Linked DNA regions of Homo sapiens: regions 1, 2 and 3 are each linked to region 4. Evidence: promoter capture Hi-C in human tissues and cell types (Jung and others, 2019). All regions are on one chromosome and are shown on one strand. Each heading gives the region's core, a stretch centred on a gene start or on the middle of the fragment in contact. The rest is flanking DNA. Distances are from core to core; before and after follow the strand shown. Region 1 overlaps CFAP46 (cilia and flagella associated protein 46). Region 2 overlaps LINC01166 (long intergenic non-protein coding RNA 1166). Region 3 has its middle 7.6 kb from the start of FRG2B. Region 4 holds the start of CALY (calcyon neuron specific vesicular protein).

Region 1 (2,779 bases), core at 72-2,571, 490 kb after region 4:
CCCACACACCAGCTCCTAAGGAAGATGCCCTCAGGGACTGGAGCAACCACGCCATATGTGCCTGGCTCCATGCCCAGGGCAATCCCCCCACCAGGTGCCGTGCAGCCCTGGGTCGGCCCTGAAATGTCTGTCCTGCGTCTTCAGGACCTAGCACAGGACTTGATGTACCTCGAGTGAATTGATGGAATCGAGGCTCTGCATGCAACCAGCCTCCATTGGCCTGCTCAGGTAGCGGGTGGGTGTGGACCAGAAGCGAGGGTCGGCAGGGCCTCCTGTGAGCTGCGTCCTCATCCATGAATGCTGCTGATGGTGCTCCAGCGAGGAGGGGCCAGGGCAGAGCAGACGTCAAGTCCCGTGTGGAGGGCGCAGGGTTCTTCCGCGGCCCCCGCCCCATGCAGGCCAGGCCGGGACGTACCTGCCTTTTGCTGTCCTTAGATATGATTTATGTTGTTGTCCAGCTTCTTGAAATCAAAGCTTAAATCAAGGTTTTTCTGGGTTTTTTCTTGTATTCAAGGCTGTATTTTTCCTCTAACCCCCGTTTTAGTCTCCCAAGTTTTGATACGTAGGATCGACACGGTCTAGGGTTGCTGGTCACGTTGTCTAAGGTGTTATCCGAGCTCGTTGTCCATCGTCTCACAACCCAGAAAATTAAGGCGCGTGGACACAGGGAGAAGTTGCAGCGAAAGTTTAATAAGTGAAAGAAAAAAGCTCTCTGTGGCGGAGAGGGGGCCCGAGTGGGCTGCCATTTTCACAGTTGAATCCAAACGCTTTGATAAGAAAGTCCGCTGGTCTCTTTCGCTGTTCTTGTGACTTCCTTATCTGTGCCGCTGCGGGTGTGTCTTTAGGGAGCACAAAGCGCAGCCTCTCTTGTTTGTGCAGCTGTGGGTGTGTTTTGGATAAGCCCCCACCCCCTCCCACAACCCATGCAGGTTCCCTCGGAGCCCACCGTGTTCATGCCTGAAAAGGGGAGGAAACTTTCCCTGGCAGCCGGCTGATGACCTGGAGAACGAAGGCTTCTCTGCTGCCCTCCCTCCCCCCGACTCACCAGTGCTGCCGCAGCTTGGTTTTGCCTGGCAGCTCTCTCTCTGCCTGTGGCTGTGACATTTCAGGCTGTTTCTCCAAAGACCAGCCTTGGCTGTCGGCCTCACTGACTTTTCCTTTTCTCTTCCCTCAGTATTTTCATTCTCTAAGTCCGTTTTATAAATTCCATTGCAATTTCTTGTTTGACTGACTTGATGATTGTATCTTGTTTAATTTCAAGGCGACTGTTTCTCACGGGTCTATTTTCATGACTGACTTCCTGTTTAATGTCCTGGTGGTTGAAAACACACCGAGTGGTCTCGGTCCTGGGGACTCTGCAGTGGCTGCACGTGGTGCAGCCCTGGTTGGTTTTGGTAAATGTTCTGCACACGTCTGAACGGCGTGTGCTCCGTCGAGAAAGGGGCCAGGCTCCGTGCATGTCAGGCAGCCGTGCGTGTCAGGTGGCCACGGCTGCCCTGCCTCCAGCGTGCTTGCTGGTTTTTGCCTGCATTCAGGCAGCCTACTAGAACGGGGACATGTCCATCACTCCTTCTCCATTTCTATCAGTGTTTTTATTTTGACGCCTGATCATTGGGTGCATATATAGATTTGGTGCTGCGATACCTTGTGTCCCGAAAACCCAGGGGGCTCCCTCTCAACCCAGGTTCTTCAGGGGCTGCCAGGGCTTCCTATACCCAGGTGGGGCTTGTGTCTCAGCCAGATCAGGGGCCCCTGAGGGCTGGTGGATGCCTCAGCCTCAGTGCTGGCTGGTTCCGGGAGAGGTGTTTCCAAAGGACAGGAACGAGAGCCCCCTGGGAATGTGTTGGATTCCAGGCCCACGTGACTCAGGCCGGCTTCCTCAGGGGTCTGCGTCCTCACCCTGGCTGCAGCATCCCCTCGCCCAGGCTCCAGCGTCCCCTTGCCCAGGCTCACGGGTCAGGGCCACCCTGCATCAACTCAGGGATGGAGGGTTTGGGATAGTGAGAGGCCATGCTGTGGCCTGCGGTACCCCCTACCCGGGGACCCTGCTGAGGAGCCCGACCACCCCGGCCTCCCTGGGTGGGCCCTCCCCACGCCGACCAAGCAGGAACCCAGAAGTGTCTGCCAACCTGCAATGTGTGTCACAGGTGGGCGCCAAGCTGAGCGGCCTCAAGTCTCTGGAGCTGGAGGTAGAGGAAGAGGGTGCCACAAAGTCCAGCAGGGACCCGCCGGCCTCCAGGGCAGCCCCGGAGGAGCACTGCAGGAGAGGCGAGGACCTGAAGGTGCGGCTGCCCCTCCTGCCCCTCGTGTGGCCTCTGCCCGGAGCCTGGCCTGAGCCTGAGCCTTGTGCCCCACAGAGGAGGATGGTTCTGGCCCAGCAGTACCTGGCTCAGGCGTCAGAGGTGCTGCTGCAGTGCCTACAGGTGGCCCTTGGCAGTGGCCTCCTGGATGTCGCAGCAGCCGCCAGCCTGGAGATGGTGGAGTGTGTCGGCACCCTGGACCCTGCAACTACCTGCCAGTTCCTGGCTCTGTCTCAGGTGTGTCTCTGCCCTGCCCACCTCCAGCCAGGCCCTTCATGGAGGAGGGAGGACCCTGGGCTTCAGCTGGGGCCCTCGCCTTGGGGGGACTCCATTAGAGAAGCAGGCCGCAGGCCAGGGTCCTTAAGCAGTGGGAGCCTGCCGGCCACGTAAACTTGTGGCTCAGAGAGAACATGCATTCGTGTGCTTATCCCCGATCCCCTGCATCGGGCAGACATGGAGACCTGGCAGTCACAGGCCAG
Region 2 (3,021 bases), core at 473-2,972, 380 kb after region 4:
CCTCCCTTTTGGAACTACTGATAGAACAGACTCGTTAACTCTGATAAGAAACATTTACAGTCTATTTTCTCTGAAGCCTGCAACCTGAAGGCCTCACTTGCGTGATAAAACCTTAGTCTTCACAACTCCTTATCTTAACCCAGATGTTCCTTTCTATTGATAATAACTGTTTCAACCAATTGCCAATCAGAAAATCTTTGAATCTGCCTACGACCTGGAAGCCCCCTCCCCCTTCTCATTGACCCACCTTTCCAGACTGAACCAACACATCTTAGTGTACTGAGATGCATCTCCTTTGAGTGTATAAAACCAGGCTGTGCCCCGGCCACCCTGGGCGCATGCCCTCAGGGTCTCCTGGGGCTGTGTCACGGGCCATGGTCATTCGTATTTGGCTCAGAATAAATCTCTTCAATTATTTTACAGAGTTTGACTCTTTTCATCAACAGTGTTAGCAGTGACCAGCCAGAGAGACAAGGGGAGGGAAGAAGAAATGAGTTCTCCCATACAGCCCACCTCCTCCACTGCCCACACGGCCATTCCCTGCTCTGACCAGTGTCCCCAGGCATCTGGGGTTTGGAGTGGAACCTACCATGCCTGCTGGTTCACTATTTTCTCAGAGCTGTTTAAAAAGAAAAAAAGAAAAAAAATGACCACAACGAAACTGCTAAACCACCTGATAATTAAAGCAAGAAAAACAAATCAAAGAAAATGTCAATGCACAAAATTAGGACTGGGAACGTGAGACTGACCACAGACAGAGAGAATTAAAGTGCTTGATGCTCAGATCCTTGGATAATGTTTTGCACAACTCTTTGCTAATGATTTGAAGTTAGGAGGCAATGCAGCTTTTAAGGAAAATTAAGATGGGCAGGGTGGACTTTTGGATGGCCCAGTGACTGTGGATAAACTGGGAGAGCTCCGGGTGAGACCAGAGCTGAAGAGAGGTCCGTGGATCTCACTTCCCCAGCAGGGCATCCACAGCCATCTCAAGAGGATGCATCCTTCCTCCATGGGACTCCGGGATTTTCTGGCTTTCCAGGGCCTGCATTTCAGAGGGCAGGCTTTTCCTGCCCTGCCACACCCTGCAGTACCTGCACCTGCACCCCTTCCTGCATGCCGCCCTCTCTCTCTGCACACCTCAGCTGGGAGGGAGGAGAAAGAACAGAGTGAGTGATCCCTATTTGTGGGATTTCAGGACATTGGCAAAAGCTTCCATTCCAAATACAATATCCAGCCCCCTCTGAGTGGTGTCTAACCTCCACACTTAGAGACTTTTTCCTTTGACTGAAGCAAAACCATGCTGCCACTCACTTCTCAGGGGGTGCCAGCCCTGGGAAGGGGTGTTCCTGGAAAGGTCTGCACACTGGGCTGCACAAGGTGTTTCCCTCCAAGAGTGGAGAAGAGTGGGGTTTGGAGTCCTCACGCTCCAGGGTCATGGCCGCTGAGACTGGAGGAGCTGCATTAGTCCCGTCTGAATTCCGTGATTTGGGCAGAATTGCACTTGCCACGTTGAGCACACGCTCCAGCAAACCCCTGTGCTCTGCGTTATAGGAGGTTCTACAACAGGCAACTCTGGTCTGTGGTGGCTGAAGTCAGAGCACAGGTGCCCCAGGGCAGGGTAGGGCCAACTGGGAGGGGCACAGGGGCCTCTGTGGGGTGACAGGGTGGTTTCCGTCCTGAGGGGTGTGGGTGACCACGTGCACACACTTCCAAAACTCACGGAAACGCAGCACTTACCACCTGTTCGTTTTGCTGCATGTAAATTATACCAAAATAAAGGAAGCAGTGAAGGAGCAGGGAAAAGGCAGGTTTGTGATCTTCCTCGCCAGGGCTGGCTTCAAGGAAACAAGTGCTGACCGAGACAGATGGGCACTTGGTGGTAGCAAAGGATATGAGCCACAGAGAAGCCCCAGCAAACCCCTGTGCTCCGAATGGGATGGAATTGGCATCTGCTGAGAGTGAGTGACAGAGCCAAAGGGTGTGCAGGGAGAGCCAGACAGACACTTCAGAGGCCTGAAGAGCGTCGTCAGTAACACAGTTCTAACCAATATTCATCGAAGGCCTTTCAAGTGCCCATGGAACAATCACAAAAATGGATGGCGTATCGAGGCCCAGAGGAAACCACGAATTCCAAAGCATACACACCGCCAGGCGACGTTCACCAATCCCAGCGCAGTACCACTGCCGGTTGAAGTCAATACCGTGAAGCGGAAAACCTCACCATCTGAACATTTTTTAACTCTCTAACATAACTATTAAGCCAAAAGAAAATAAAGTTCTCTTTACAGAATATCTAGAAAACAATGAAGAAGAAAATCCACGTTCAAGAAAATATCTCCAAAGTTTGAAATTGAGGAAAATTAGTGGTGAGTGATTTTAGTATCACAGCAGAGCACTCTCCCCTCCCTCGGAAAATGCGGCCTCACTGCCTTCCCGCTTACGGCCCCCAAGGCTGCCGTACTGCAGCCCCATGAAACTGGAGGGCGTCTTACAGAAAGGTGATAATGCGGAAATTTTTTTGGAGAAGATAACCCTAGAGGTTACGCTTTTTGTAGGACATGAACCAGGTTTGGACCTAACTTATCTAATGATCTCATAACCCCAAAATAAAATTCTAAGACCCCCCCCCCCAGTTGACTGGACTCCCTCTGGGCCAAGGGGACCCCAGGAAACCTGAAAAACTGGATTATTGATGAGAAGGGAGGCTGGGCTCCCCCTCCCTGTTGGAGCTTAGGCACAGCTGACCAGCATTTATACTAAAGTAGAGATCATAAGACTGACAAATAGACTTTTTGTGGCAATTAGATACCAAATTCCAACCTGACTCTGGCATAGCATTGCATGACAGCAGATAGCAGACCCTAAAGAAAAGCACAGTATTTTACTCCCAAATATGTTTCTTTGACATGTTTTGAAATGGCTGGGAAAAGTGCACTCTTGTAGGGGAAAATTGTGTCTATAGAGAGTGGCCTTCCCTTACTAGGTCCTTTCCTGATCCGGGAGAGATTTACCTAAGAGATT
Region 3 (2,792 bases), core at 40-2,539, 280 kb before region 4:
TTGATTTTATTCTACTAGGGATGCTCAGTAAGGCATCAGGGCATGACATCCCCTGGAGATGAAGCAGTCCCCAGATCTGCAACTGGCCAGCTGGAACCCCGAAAGAGCTGATGGAGTTCATCCCAGTCTGAAGGCTGGGCACTCAAGACCCACAGAGCCTGTGCTTAGGTTCAAGTCCAAAGCCTGGAAAAGACCAAGGTCACAGCTCAAGGCAGCCAGGCAGAGCATGTCCCCAGCAACCCCCAGGACACATCAGTGGAAGCTGGAGGATGCCGGCCGCCTGGGCCTGGAACCTCAGAGCCTGCATTGAGGTTAATTTCACATGTCCGTCTGACGGGCCCACAGAGGACAGACATTTGGCCAAACATTATGCTGGGTATGCAAGAGGGGGCTCTGGGTGAGATTGACATTTGAATTAGTGCAAAGCTTTGGGAAAGCTTTTCAGTCCAAATGGCTGGCCTCAATTAGCATGGATGTGAACAAATCGGCAGACCTCCATGAGGACTGCTATGAACATTGGACCTGGCTCTAATGTGAGTGACAGAACATCTTAGCTGACTTACATGAGAACCACAGGGAATAACTGTACAGGACCCATGAGGACAGCTGTGAACACCTGGGCTGTGCACAATGAAGACAGCTACGAAAAGGTCGGTTGAGCTCAAGGAAAACAGCTCTTAAGCCCTGGGCAGGTCCCCCATGAACAACCAGCCAGAACACCTGGGCTGGCTGCCTTATTGATTGTTATGAACACCTTAGATCACCCAAATGAGAATGGCTGTGAACAACTGGGCCAGACCCAATGTTGACAGCTGTGAAAACCTGAGGGGGCCGAAAGAGGACAGCTATAAACACGGGGATTGGCTTGGATAAAGGTAGCTATAGTATCTTGGCTGGCCCAGTGAGCATGGGGTGAACACACTGGCTGGCCCTCAGGAGGATGGCTGTGATTAAGTGGGCTGTGCCTAGTGAGGACAGCTGTGAAGAACTTGGCTAGAAACAAAGAAGATGGCTATGGACAACTGGGGAGGCTGAGATGAGGGAAGCTGTTAGCAGCGGGGCTGGTCCCAATGAAGACAGCTATGAACACCTGAGACGGGTCAGATGCAAACGGCTGTGAGCACTGAGCTGCACCCACTAAAAAAAATTTAACAACTGGGTTTTCCCCAATGAGGAAGGTTGTGAACACCTGGCCTGCACCCAGAGAGAACAGCTTAGAACACCTGGATTGACCCGATGAGGATGGCTGTGAACACTGGTCTAGGCTGAGAAGGACAAGCGTTAACACCTGAGCTTGCTACTGACTGTGAACGCCTTGGCTGGGCCCCACGAGGAAAACTTTAAATACCTGGGCTGGACACAGTGTGGACAGATGTGAACACCTAACCTGGGTCCTGTGAAGGCAGCTATGAAAACGTAGGCATGGCCCAGTGAGTGCAGCTGTGAACACCTGGCCTGGGTCCAATGAGAACAGTTGAGAACACTTGGGCTAAGCCAGTAAGAACAGCTGTGGCATCGGGGCTGATTGCCACGAAAACAGATGTAAACACCTTGGCTGGTCTCCACTAGCACAGCTGTGAATGGCTAGGCTGGGCCCAATGAAAACAGCCAAGAACACCTGGTGTGGGGTCAACGAAAGCCATTGTGAGCGTTTGGGCTTGCCACAATGAAGATGGCTATAAACACCTGGCTGGGCCCAAGATGAATGGCTGTCAACATCTAAACTCACCCCGACAAAGACGGTGTGAACAGCTGGGCTAATCCCACTGAGGACCACTATTAACGCCTGGGCTGGGCCCAAGCGGGGGCGACTTCAGCTGGACCTGGAAAGGATGGCTGTGAACACCTTGGCTTCTGACGAAGATGGCTATGAACCCCTGGCCTGGGTATGAACACCTTTGCTTCTGACAAAGATGGCTATGAACCCCTGGCCTGGGCCCAATGAGGAAAGCTGTGAACACCCGCACTGGCCCCAGTGAGGGAAGCTGGGAAAACCTGGGCCGGGTCCAGTAAAAGCAGCAGTGAACACCCAGGCTGGCCACAGTGAACGCCCAGGCTGGCCACAGTGAGCGCCCAGGCTGGCCACAGTGAGCGCCCGGGCTGGCCACAGGACAGCTTTGAACACGGACACTGACCATCATCATGAGGACGGCTGTGGATGCCTGGGCTGGCCCAGATGAGGAGCACTATTAACTCCTGAGCTCGCACCCAGTTAGAACAGCCGTGAATACCTGGTCATGCCCACGTAATGACAGCAATGAACAACTGAGCTCAGCCAATGGGAACGGCCGTGAACACCTGTGCTGAGACAAATAAGGATAGTTGGGAACACCTGAGCTGGCCCCAGTGAGGATGACTATGGATACCTGAGCTGTGGGCAATGGGGATGGCTATGTATACCATGGTTCAGCCAAATGACAGCTTTGAAAAATGTGGCTGGCACCAGCGAGTACGGCTGTGAAAGCATAGGCTGCTCCCAGTAAAGGCAGCTTTGCATACCTGGGCTGGGCCCAGTGAGATTGGATGTGAACATCTGGCCTACTGCTGCAAACACCTGTTCTGGGACAAATGAGGATGCCTATGAATACCCGGGCTGGGCCCTAGGAGAACAGCTCGGATTAACTGTGCTGGGCCCAAAACATATGGCTACGAACACCTGGGCTGACCCCAGTGTGGACAGCTATAAAGACCTGGGCTGGGCTCAGGAGGACAGCTGTGCCATTTTGGCTGCATCCAATGAGGACAGCTGTGGATATCTGCACCTGGCCCCATTAAAACAGCTGTGAACACCT
Region 4 (2,990 bases), core at 472-2,971:
GTGAACTGTATGGGTCAAGAGCGTGTGTGAGGTGTGTGTGAGGTGTGTGTTGGGGGTGTGTGTGAGAGGTGTATGTGATGTGTGTATGGCTGGTGTGTGAGGCGTCTGTCTGAGGGGTGTGTGGCGTGTGTGAGGTGTGTGTTTGGGTGTGTCTGGTGTGTGAGGTGTGTATTTCTGGGGTGTGTGTCAGGTGTGTGTCTGGGGTGTGGGTCAGGTGTGTGTATGTCAGGTGTGTGGTGTGTGTGTGTCAGGGATGTGTTTGAGGTGAGTGTGTTTGGGTGTGTCTGGTGTGTTTCTGGGGTATGTGTCAGATGGGCATCAGGTGTGTCAGGTGTGTGGGGGGGTGTGTTTGGGTGTTTCTGCTGTTTAAGGTGTGTGTTTCTGGGGTGTGGGTCAGGTGTGTGTGTCAGGTGTGGGGTGTGTGTCAGGGGTGTGTGTGAGGTGTGTTTGGGTGTCTGGTGTGTGAGATGTGTGTTTCTGGGGTGGGTGTCAGGTGCGTGTCGTGTATGTGAGATGTGTGGGTGTGTCTGGTGTGTGAGGTGTGTTTCTGGGGTGTCAGGTGTGTGTGTGTGAGGTATGTCTGGGGTGTGTGTGTGAGGTATATCTGGGGTGTGTGTGAATTGTGTGTTTAGATGTATTTGGTGTTTGAGGTGTTTCTGGGGAGAGTGTCAGGTGTGTGTGTCTGGGGTGTGTGTCAGATGTGTGTTTCTGGGGTGTGGGTCAGGTGTGTGGGGTGCGGGTTAGGTGTGTGGGGTGTGTCTCAGGTGTGTGTGTGTCTGGGGTGTGTGTGAGGTGTGTGTCTGGATGTGTCTGGTGTTTGAAATGTGTGTTTCTGGGGGCTGTCAGGTGTGTGTCAGCTGTGTGTGTGTCTGAGGTGTGTGTGAGATGTGTGTTTGGATGTCTGGTATTTGATGTGTGTATTACTAGGGTGTGTGTGTCAGGTGTGTGTGAGGTGTGTGTTTGGATGTATCTGTTGTTTGAGGTGTTTCTGGGGTATGTGTGTCAGGTGTGTGGGGTGTGTGTGTCAAATGTGTGCCTGGGGTGTGTATCAGGTATATGTGTTGTTGGGTGTGTGTGAGGTGTGTGTCAGGTGTATGTTTCTGGGGGTGTGTCAGGTGTGTGTGTCACGTGTGTGTCAGGTGTGTGTCGGGTGTGTGTGAGGTGTGTGTTTGAATGTGGTGTTTGAGGTGTGTGATTCTGGGGGTGTGTCGGGTGTGTCAGGTGTGTGTGTGTCTGGGGTGTGTGTGAGGTGTGTGTGGTGTGTGTGTCGGGTGTGTGTTGGGTGTGTGTCTGGGGTGTGTGTGTCTGGGGTGTGTTTGGATGTGTCTGGTGTTCGAGATGTGTGATTCTGGGGTGTGTGTGTGTCAGGTGTTTGGGGTGTTTGTGAGGTGTGTGTGTGGGGGGTGTTTGTGTGAGGTGTGTGTCTGGGATGTGTGTGAGGTGTGTGTTTGGATGTGTCTGGTGTTCGAGGTGTGGTTTCTGGGGATGTGTCAGGTGTGTGTGCATCAGGTGTGTGTATGAGGTGTGTGGTGAGGCCCGAGCAGGGTCTGAGGGGCGCATGCGCGGCTCCCTAGCCGGGGCGGTGGGTGGGGGTAGAGGGTGCGGGACCAGAGTCGAGGCCCCGCCTCTAGCCGCGTTTCCATGGCGACCACAGCCTCGGTCTCGCAGCTGCAGCCCCCGCCCCGCCCGGCCGCGAAGCGTCTGGAACCGCATCCTCCGCATCCACATCCGCATCGTCGTCCTCCCCGACCGCGTCCTGCAGCAGCTGCCAGTGGAGCCGCCTGTGAGCTATTTCCACATTTCTTGCAGAATGTGGGCGGGGGGCCCGAAGGGGTGCGGGGGTGCGAGGCGCGTGTGCGGGTGTGTGTGCGAGGTGCGTGTGCTCGCGAGTGCGCTTGTGCGTGGCGCGCGTGCGGATGAGGGTGTGAGTGCGTGTGTGCGAGGCGCGTGTGCGGGTGCGAGTGTGCAGGGCGCGCTGCACGGCCGCCCTCCTCCCTCGGGCCTCCTCTGGCTGCCCCAGGCCAGTCCGACCCCGCGGACCCGAGGGCGGTGGTCTCCAGGCTTCCCGTGACGGCGGGGCCCCGGCACGAGGATCGCAGCCTGGAGTTAAGGGTGTCTCCGAGGTGGGGAGGGGGTACCAGTCCCAGCTCCCGCCCAGCTCTGTCCGCCGGAGGCGGGGTGGGGAGGGCGACAGAAGGGGCGTCGGACCAGAGCACCGAGGAGCCGCTGCCCGCACGGGGGTTGGGGGTGGGCGGTGGGCTTGATGGGGGCGTCTGCGTGACAGGCAAGAGGTGGCCAGGAGGCCGGGAGGGGCGCGGCTCCGGAACCACCTGCAGCAGGCTCGGGTGCGGGGCCACAGGTGGCTGGGCTGGAAGCGGGAGCAGCTGCGCGCCCACTCCCCTCCGAGGGGCTGCGCCGACCCCGCAGTGCAGCTGCCTTTTAATAAGCGGGGCAGCCACAGCCCCCTGCAGCGCCAGGGGCGGGAGGCTGCGGTGGCGCCCGCGGGGGCTGGGCGGGACCCTCAGATCCGCAGTCACACGCGCTGGTGCCCGGCCCGCACAAGCCCACCTGCGCGCACCCCCCAGCGTGACGCAGCATTCCATGGTTGGGGGGGGCGCATGCGGAAGCGAGTCTGTGACGTGACCTCCAGCCGAGCTTCCGTGGACTTTCGACTGAGAGCCTGCACCCCCGCCCCCGCCATCCATCTGTCCATCTGCACGGCCTCACTCACCCGCGCCCCCACCCATCTGCCATCAGCATCCCACGCCTTCCCCGCCCCAGAGACAGGAGCCGGGCACTGCCTCCCTGCCAGAGCGCGGCGGGTGGGGCGCAGGGGACCCGCAGAAGATGCCGCGACAGCGCAGGTGCAGGGAGGGGCCGGGAGGAGAAGCAGAGGCGGCCCCCCAGTTCCACGAGCCGCGTGTCATCCGTGGGAGGAGGCCCCCATGACGCAGCAATGCAAAGGGAAGGTCTGGTGTGTGGGGTGGGGG

What was found. Contacts are between HindIII fragments. The study calls those that stand out against the background at their distance.
Region 1: a fragment that was not itself captured here is called in contact with the fragment with the promoter of CALY in region 4 in 1 of the 25 tissues and cell types used here (mesendoderm cells).
Region 2: a contact is called between a fragment that was not itself captured here and the fragment with the promoter of CALY in region 4, in 1 of the 25 tissues and cell types used here (dorsolateral prefrontal cortex).
Region 3: a fragment that was not itself captured here is called in contact with the fragment with the promoter of CALY in region 4 in 2 of the 25 tissues and cell types used here (lymphoblastoid cells and mesendoderm cells).

The regions. Positions count from the first base shown.
Region 1 is chr10:132,846,690-132,849,468 of GRCh38, reverse strand. It overlaps CFAP46 (cilia and flagella associated protein 46), which reads left to right. Exons shown (of 58, transcript NM_001200049.3): 42 at 2,148-2,282; 43 at 2,358-2,537. It also overlaps LOC105378571. Among named protein-coding and RNA genes, the nearest start is that of NKX6-2, 62 kb to the right of the region's middle. The HindIII fragment of the contact is 4,039 bases long and covers 1-2,779 here.
Region 2 is chr10:132,950,681-132,953,701 of GRCh38, reverse strand. The region is part of intron 1 of LINC01166 (long intergenic non-protein coding RNA 1166); the gene reads left to right. Among named protein-coding and RNA genes, the nearest start is that of CFAP46, 9.6 kb to the right of the region's middle. The HindIII fragment of the contact is 6,557 bases long and covers 1-3,021 here.
Region 3 is chr10:133,617,805-133,620,596 of GRCh38, reverse strand. No RefSeq gene overlaps it. Among named protein-coding and RNA genes, the nearest start is that of FRG2B, 7.6 kb to the left of the region's middle. The HindIII fragment of the contact is 3,524 bases long and covers 1-2,792 here.
Region 4 is chr10:133,335,627-133,338,616 of GRCh38, reverse strand. CALY (calcyon neuron specific vesicular protein) reads left to right here and starts at 1,721. Exons shown (of 6, transcript NM_015722.4): 1 at 1,721-1,783. All of the region lies in intron 5 of ZNF511-PRAP1 (ZNF511-PRAP1 readthrough), which reads right to left. RefSeq lists an enhancer at 2,791-2,990. The HindIII fragment of the contact is 49,503 bases long and covers 1-2,990 here.